Linked DNA regions of Homo sapiens: region 2 is linked to region 1. Evidence: promoter capture Hi-C in human tissues and cell types (Jung and others, 2019). All regions are on one chromosome and are shown on one strand. Each heading gives the region's core, a stretch centred on a gene start or on the middle of the fragment in contact. The rest is flanking DNA. Distances are from core to core; before and after follow the strand shown.

What was found. Contacts are between HindIII fragments. The study calls those that stand out against the background at their distance.
Region 2: a contact is called between a fragment that was not itself captured here and the fragment with the promoter of MRPS12 in region 1, in 6 of the 25 tissues and cell types used here (H1 embryonic stem cells, dorsolateral prefrontal cortex, heart right ventricle and 3 more).

Annotation. Positions count from the first base shown.
Region 1 is chr19:38,928,950-38,932,904 of GRCh38, forward strand. It overlaps MRPS12 (mitochondrial ribosomal protein S12), which reads left to right and starts at 1,995. Exons shown (of 3, transcript NM_033362.4): 1 at 1,995-2,049; 2 at 2,327-2,394; 3 at 3,384-3,955. The coding sequence starts at 2,346. The coding sequence ends at 3,751. SARS2 (seryl-tRNA synthetase 2, mitochondrial) reads right to left here and starts at 1,814. Exons shown (of 16, transcript NM_017827.4): 1 at 1,521-1,814. The coding sequence starts at 1,787. RefSeq lists an enhancer at 1,439-1,898. The HindIII fragment of the contact is 13,053 bases long and covers 1-3,955 here.
Region 2 is chr19:38,751,147-38,755,158 of GRCh38, forward strand. No RefSeq gene overlaps it. Among named protein-coding and RNA genes, the nearest start is that of CAPN12, 8.7 kb to the left of the region's middle. The HindIII fragment of the contact is 9,984 bases long and covers 1-4,012 here.

The DNA of each region.
Region 1 (3,955 bases), core at 745-3,244:
CTCACATCTGTACTCCTAGCACTTTGGGAGGCCAAGGTGGGTGGATCACTTGAGGTCAAGAGTTCGAGACCAGCCTGGCCAACATGGTGAAACCCCGTCTCTACTAAAAATACAAAAATTATGCAGATGTGGTGGCATGTGCCTGTAATCCCAGCTACTCGGGAGGCTGAGGTGGGAGAATCACTTCAACCTGGGAGGCAGAAGTCGCAGCGCACTCCAGCCTGGGAGACAAGAGCAAAACTCCATCTCAAAAAAAAAATGTCTTTTACTAGACTGTGAACTCAGATCATGAGAGGGCACAGCAGGGTACTTAAGATTGTGGAGTCTGGGTGTGGTGGCTCATGCCTGTAATCTCAGCATTTTGGGAGGCCAGGGTGGGAGGATCACTTGGGCGCAGGAGTTCAAGACCAGCCTGGGCAACATAGTATGTCCCTGTCTCAACAAAAAATACAAAAGTTTAGCCGGGCGTGGTGGTGTCTGCCTGTAGTCCCAGCTACACGGGAGGCTGAGTGGGAGGATTATTTGAGCTCAGGAATTCAAGGTTCCAGTGAGCTATAATTGTACCACTGTACTCCATCCTGCCATCCTGGGCGACAGAACAACACCCTATCTCAAAAAAAAAAAAAAAAAAAGTGGATTCTAGGCCAGAAAGCACAGGTTAAAATTCCCACTCTGCCACTTCCCAGTTGCATGACCTAGCGCAAGTGAATTAGCTTCTCGAAGCCTTAGTTTCCCCTCTGATAAAATGGGAGAAATAATGGCACCTACTTCATAGAGTTGCTGTGAAAATTAAACGAGGTTAAAGTGAATAAAGCACTTCAAACAGGCTGGGAGGGGAGTCCAAGAGAGGAATGGGAAGACGTGGGGACCCCACTATCGTTAGCACCTCAACACAGAGATATTGTGAACCCGGTCCTAATTCCCTTTTATAAGTGCTAGCAATTTTATTATTATTCACCGCATATTTGCAACATCTAGAACACCGGAATATAGCAGTTGCACCTTAAGTATCAGTTTAATAGAACCATTCATTAATGGATTCATTCATTCATTCATTAACTCTATTTAACTGCCTGCTATGTGTGGCGGAGGTGCACAACTCTCCCTACCTCTCTCTCTAAACGCAAGAGCTCCACCACACCCCAGCCCTGACCCCGTCCGATTCACACTTGGCTCCCCATTTTCCTTTGTGGTCTTAGGGAAAGGCTGGCATGAGGTTGCAGCACGGAGGGCAATGTCACATAGCAAGTTCCTAAAGGACAGGAGGTACCCAGCGAGCAGTATGAAACAAGCGCATAATGGGTGTCCAGGACACAGTAGGCATTCTTGGCACATAGTAGGGCCTCAGCACTCACTGGACAACTGGCACATAAGTGGGTGCCATGCACAAGACGTTGGCTAACTTGGGAAATAACTAAAATTCCTACTACAGGTTCGCCCCCTGCCGGAGGGCATCTTGCAAACCCAATTCTTCCGTAAAGCAAACGTCTGCGCCCCCCGGCCGGCGCAGGCGCACTCACGATCGCGGGCAGGTCCGCCGAGCGCAGCTCCCCCTTGCGGAGCTCCAGGGCGTGTGCGGCCTCTTCTGGGCATGCGCAGAACCGCTCTATGTCCAGCTGAGGGAGTGCGCTGTAGCCCTCGCGCGCATACTCGTACAGGAGGTTCCGGTTTCGTTTCTCTGTAGTGAAACTTCTCCTTGGACTATCGTTGGAGATGCAGCCTCCCCGGGGCCGGAACCCCCGACGAGTCAGCAAAGGCCACAAGCGCCGCGCCATGGACGCAGCCATCTTGGACCGGGAACAAGGCGGCACTTCGTCCCGCCCACTCCGCGTTTAGACCAATTGCAAGGCAGCGAACCTGACCGTGACGAGCCAATCAGATCCTGAGGAAAGTTGACCGCGATAGAGTCCTTCGTCGCCCAATCGTCGTCTGTGTCCCGCCTCTTCAGTGACGCGAGGCAGAACCAGCCAATCCCTGCACGGATAGCGCCCGGAAGAGGCTAGAAGCTGGATTCAGCGTGTCCGCGACCTCACCTTTAGGTCCTGTGAGGTCGGTGGAATCCTGGGGTCCTCCAAATCTACCAGGCCATCTCCCCAGTTTCCCAGTTCTTCCTGCGTGCGGGCGAGAGTGGTTGGGCCCTCGGGAACCCACTCAGAGCGAGGCTAAATTTACGGAGGGACTTTCTGTTAGCAGCATGAGGGCCTGTGGTTAGACCTATAGAGGTATTTCCTTTGATTTAAGCCAGAAAGTCCTGAGAGCGGATCGGGGAGCATTTGCGGATCGGTCACTTTTTCCTCCTTTCTGAGTCTCTTATCCCCTACCACAGGGACGGCCCAGGTGGCAGGATGTCCTGGTCTGGCCTTCTCCATGGCCTCAACACGTCCCTAACTTGTGGTAAGTGGGGGACTTGGGCTTCAGGGACGAGGCTAGAGGGGGAGGGTTATTCGCTCTTGGACTTGTGTGCCTCCGTCGGAGCCCCGAGGGAAACGGGGGTGGAAAAACACGGTGGGGTTTTGGCAGAGCTAGGGCTGCTAGAGCAAGAGGTGGGAAGCAGCTGCATGGAGGGCTACTGCGTGTCAAGCGGCGTTTGGGTCAGTTTTATTATTTATTTATTTAAGATCTCCCTCTGTCGCCCAGGCTGAAGTGCAGCGGTGTGATCACAGCTCACTGCAGTCTCGACCTCCTGGGCTCAAGTGATCCTCCCGCCTCAGCCTCCCAAGTAGCTGGGACCACAGGCCTGCAGAACCACAACCAGCTAACTTTTTGATTCTTTGTAGAGAGGGAGGTCTCCCTGTGTCGCCCAGTCTGGCCTTAACTCCTGAGCTCAAGTGACCCTCCACAGCCTCCAAAAGTGCTAGGATTACATGCATGAGCCACTGAGCCTACTATTATTTTAAACAGCATTAAAAATAATGCTTCCTGGCCAGCCGTGGTGGCTCACGCCTGTAATCCCAGCACTTTGAGAGGCCGAGGTCAGGAGTTCGAGACCAGCCTGACCAACATGGTGAAACCCCGTCTCTACTTAAAAATACGAAGATTAGCCGAGCGTGGTGGTGGGTGCCTGTAGTCCCAGCTGCTCAGGAGGCTGAGACAGGAGAATTGCTTGAACCCAGGAGGCAGAGGTTGCAGTGGGCCAAGATTGAGGTACTGCACTCCAGCCTGGGCGACAGAGTGAGACTTTGTCTCAAAAAAAAAAAAGAAAAAAAAAAAAAAGGTAATGCTTCCTTGAAGAATAAAGAGTTACTTTTGTCTGTAGATAACATTAGATGTGAACAAATGCATCTTTGTAAAGTGCTTTAAACAATGCCTAAAACACCAAAATTGAGTTGCTACTACTCTAAGATCTGTTCTCTGGGATAATAACCCCTTTCGGCCCTCTCCAGGCCCAGCTCTGGTTCCCCGGCTCTGGGCTACCTGCTCCATGGCTACCCTGAACCAGATGCACCGCCTGGGGCCCCCCAAGCGGCCGCCTCGGAAGCTGGGCCCCACGGAAGGCCGGCCGCAGCTGAAGGGTGTGGTCCTGTGCACGTTTACCCGCAAGCCGAAGAAGCCCAACTCAGCCAATCGCAAGTGCTGTCGAGTGCGGCTCAGCACTGGCCGCGAGGCCGTCTGCTTCATCCCTGGGGAGGGCCACACCCTGCAGGAGCACCAGATTGTCCTTGTGGAGGGCGGCCGCACCCAGGACCTGCCAGGCGTCAAGCTCACCGTTGTGCGTGGCAAGTACGACTGTGGCCACGTGCAGAAGAAGTGACGGCTGGGGGCACAGTGGGCTGGGCGCCCCTGCAGAACATGAACCTTCCGCTCCTGGCTGCCACAGGGTCCTCCGATGCTGGCCTTTGCGCCTCTAGAGGCAGCCACTCATGGATTCAAGTCCTGGCTCCGCCTCTTCCATCAGGACCACTATTAAGCCATAGGAGTCCTGGGGGTGCAAAGGGTGCCCCTCTGTCAACACCCT
Region 2 (4,012 bases), core at 1,470-3,969, 180 kb before region 1:
TGTTCCCAATGCAACTCGTCCCAAATCTTCCTTCTTTCCCTCCCACCTGTCCCCTCAGTCCCAACCCCAAGTGTCACTGAGTCTTTCTAATCTTCCTTTTCTACAGACCTATCTGACCTCTCCCCTCCTTGCTAGGCTGAGCTAGGTCCCAATTCTTCCTCAGCCTCCGCTCCTCCACCCTATAATCCTTTTATCGCCTCCCCTCCTCACACCCGGTCCCCCTTACAGTTTCGTTCCGTGACTAGCCCTTCCCCACCTGCCCAGCAATTTACTCTTAAAAAGGTGGCTGGAGCTAAAGGCATAGTCAAGGTTAATGCTCCTTTTCCTTTATCCCAAATCAGATAGTGTTTAGGCTCTTTTTCATCAAATATAAAAATCCAGCCCAGTTCATGGCTCGTTCGGCAGCAACCCTGAGACACTTTACAGCCCTAGACCCTAAAATGTCAAAAGGCCGTCTTATTCTCAATATACATTTTATTACCCAATCTGCTCCCGACATTAAATAAAACTCCAAAAATTAAATTCCGGCCCTCAAACCCCACAACAGGACTTAATTAACCTCGCCTTCAAGGTGTACAATAATAGAGGCAGCCAAGTAGCAACATATTTCTGAGTTGCAATTCCTTGCCTCCACTGTGAGACAAACCTCAGCCACATCTCCAGCACAAAAGAACCTCCAAACGCCTAAACCGCAGTGGCCAGGCGTTCCTCCAGAACCGCCTCCCCCAGGAGCTTGCTACAAGTGCCAGAAATCTGGCCACCAGGCCAAGGAATGCCCGCAGCCCAGGATTCCTCCTAAGCCGTGTCCCATCTGTGCAGGACCCCACTGGAAATCGGACTGTCCAACTCACCTGGCAGCCACTCCCAGAGCCCCTGGAACTCTGGCCCAAGGCTCTCTGACTGACTCCTTCCCAGATCTTCTCGGCTTAGCAGCTGAAGACTGATGCTGCCCGATTGCCTCGGAAGCCCCGTAGACCATCACGGACACCAAGCTTTAAGTAACTCTCACAGTGGAAGGTAAGTCCGTCCCCTTCTTAATCAATACGGAGGCTACCCACTCCACATTACCTTCTTTTCAAAGGCCTGTTTCCCTTGCCTCCATAACTGTAGTGGGTATTGACAGCCAGGCTTCTAAACCTCTTAAAACTCCCCAACTCTGGTGCCAACTTAGACAATATTCTTTTATGCACTCCTTTTAGTTATCTCCACCTGCCCAGTTCCCTAATTAGGCCGAGACACTTCAAATTATCTGCTTCCCTGACTATTCCTGGATTACAGCTGCATCTCATTGCCGCCCTTCTTCCCAATCCAAAGCCTCCTTTGCATCCTCCTCTTGTATCCCCCCACCTTAACCCAAAGGTATAAGATACCTCTACTCCCTCCTTGGCGACCAATCATGCACCCCTTACCATCTCATTAAAATCTAATCACCCTTACCCCGCTCAATGCCAATATCCCATCCCACAGCATGCTTTGAAAGGATTAAAGCCTGTTATCACTCGCCTGTTACAGCATGGCCTTTTAAAGCCTATAAACTCTCCTTACAATTCCCCCATTTTACCTGTCCTAAAACCAGACAAGACTTACAGGTTAATTCAGGATCTGCGCCTTATCAACCAAATTGTTTTGCCTATCCACCCTGTGGTGCCAAACCCATATACTCTCCTATCCTCAGTACCTCCCTCCACAATCCATTATTCTGTTCTGGACCTCAAACATGCTTTCTTTCCTATTCCTTTGCACCTGTCATCCCAGCCTCTCTTTGCTTTCACTTGGACTGACCCTGACACCAATCAGGCTCAGCAAATTACCTGGGCTGTACTGCCTCAAGGCTTCACAGACAGACCCCATTACTTCAGTCAAGCCCAAATTTCATCCTCATCTGTTACCTATCTTGGCATAATTCTCATAAAAACACACGTGCTCTCCCTGCTGCTTGTGTCCGATTAATCTCCCAAACCTCGATCCCTTACAAAACAACAACTCCTTTCCTTCCTAGGCATGGTTAGTTCGGTCAGAATTATTACACAAGAGCCAGGCCCGCACCCTGTAGCCTTTCTGCCCAAACAACTTGACCTTACTGTTTTAGCCTAGCCCTCATGTCTCCGTGCAGCGCGTGCCGCTGCTTTAACACTTTTAGAGGCCCTCAAAATCACAAACTATGCTCAACTCACTCTCTACAGCTCTCATAATTTCCAAAATCTATTTTCTTCCTCACACCTGACGCATATACTTTCTGCTCCCTGGCTCCTTCAGCTGTACTCACTCTTTGTTAAGTCCCACAATGACCATTGTTCCTGGCCCGGACTTCAATCCGGCCTCCCACATTATTCCAGATACCACACCTGACCCCCATGACGGCATCTCTCTGATCCACCTGACATTCATCCCATTTCCCCACATTTCCTTCTTCCCTGTTCCTCACCCTGATCACGCTTGATTTATTGATGGCAGTTCCACCAGGCCTAATCGCCACACACCAGCAAAGGCAGGCTATGCTATAGTACAAGCCACTAGCCTGCCTCTTAGAACCTCTCACTTCCTTTCCATTGTGGAAATCTATCTTCAAAGAAATAAATTCTCAGTGTTCCATCTGCTATTCTACTACTCCTCATGGATTATTCAAGCCCCCTCCCTTCCCTACACATCAACTCGAGGATTTGCCCCCACCCAGGACTGGCAAATTAGCTTTACTCAACATGCCCCGAGTAAGATAACTAAAACACCTCTTAGTCTAGGTAGACACTTTCACTGGATAAGTAGAGTCCTTTCCTACAGGGTCTGAGAAGGCCACCACAGTCATTTCTTCCCTTCTGTCAGACATAATTCTTCAGTTTAGCCTTATCATTCCCTTCTGTCAGACGTAATTCCTCAATTTAGCCTTCCCACCTCTATACAGTCTGATAACAGACCAGCCTTTATTTGTCAAATCAGCCAAGCATTTTTTCAGGCTCTTAGTATTCAGTGACAGACTAAAACACACCTCACCAACCTCAGCCACCAACTTAAAAAGGACTGGACAATATTTTTACCACTTTCGCTTCTCAGAATTCAGGCCTGTCCTCAGAATGCTACAAGATACAGCCCATTTAAGTTCCTGTATAGACACTCCTTTTTATTAGGCCCCAGTCTCATTCCAGACACCAGACCAACTTAGACTGTGCCCCCAAATAACTTGTCATCCCTACTATCTTCTGTCTAGTCATACTCCTATTCACCGTTCTCAACTACTCATGCATGCCCTGCTCTTGTTTACACTGCCAGTTTACACAGTTTCTCCAAGCCATCACAGCTGATATCTCCTCGTGCTATCCCCAAACTGCCACTCTTAACTCTTGAAGTAAATAAATAATCTTTGCTGGCAAGGCTATGCTGAACCTCCTTAGGCACTCTCTAATTAGATGTCCTAGGTCCTCCCAATTCTTAGTCCTTTAATACCTGTTTTTCTCCTTCTCTTATTCCGTTTAGTTTTTCAATTCATACAAAACCGTATCCAGGCCATCACCAATCATTCTACACGACAAATGTTTCTTCTAACAACCCCACAATATCACCCTTTACCACAAAATCTTCCTTCAGCTTAATCTCTCCCACTCTAAGTTCCCACGCCGCCCCTAATACCGCTGGAAGCAGCCCTAAGAAACATCACCCATTATCTCTCCATACCACCCCCAAAAATTTTCACTGTCCCAACACTTTACTACTATTTCATTTTATTTTTCTTAATATAAGAAGACAGGAATGTCAGGCCTCTGAGCCCAAGCTAAGCCATCATATCCCCTGTGACCTGCACGTACACATCTAGATGGCCGGTTCCTGCCTTAACTGATGACATTCCACCACAAAAGAAGTGAAAATGGCCTGTTCTTGCCTTAACTGATGACATTGTCTTGTCAAATTCCTTCTCCTGGCTCATCCTGGTTCAAAAGCTCCCCTACTGAGCATCTTGTGACCCCCACTCTGCCCTCCAGAGAACCCCCCTTTGACTATAATTTTCCTTTATCTACCCAAA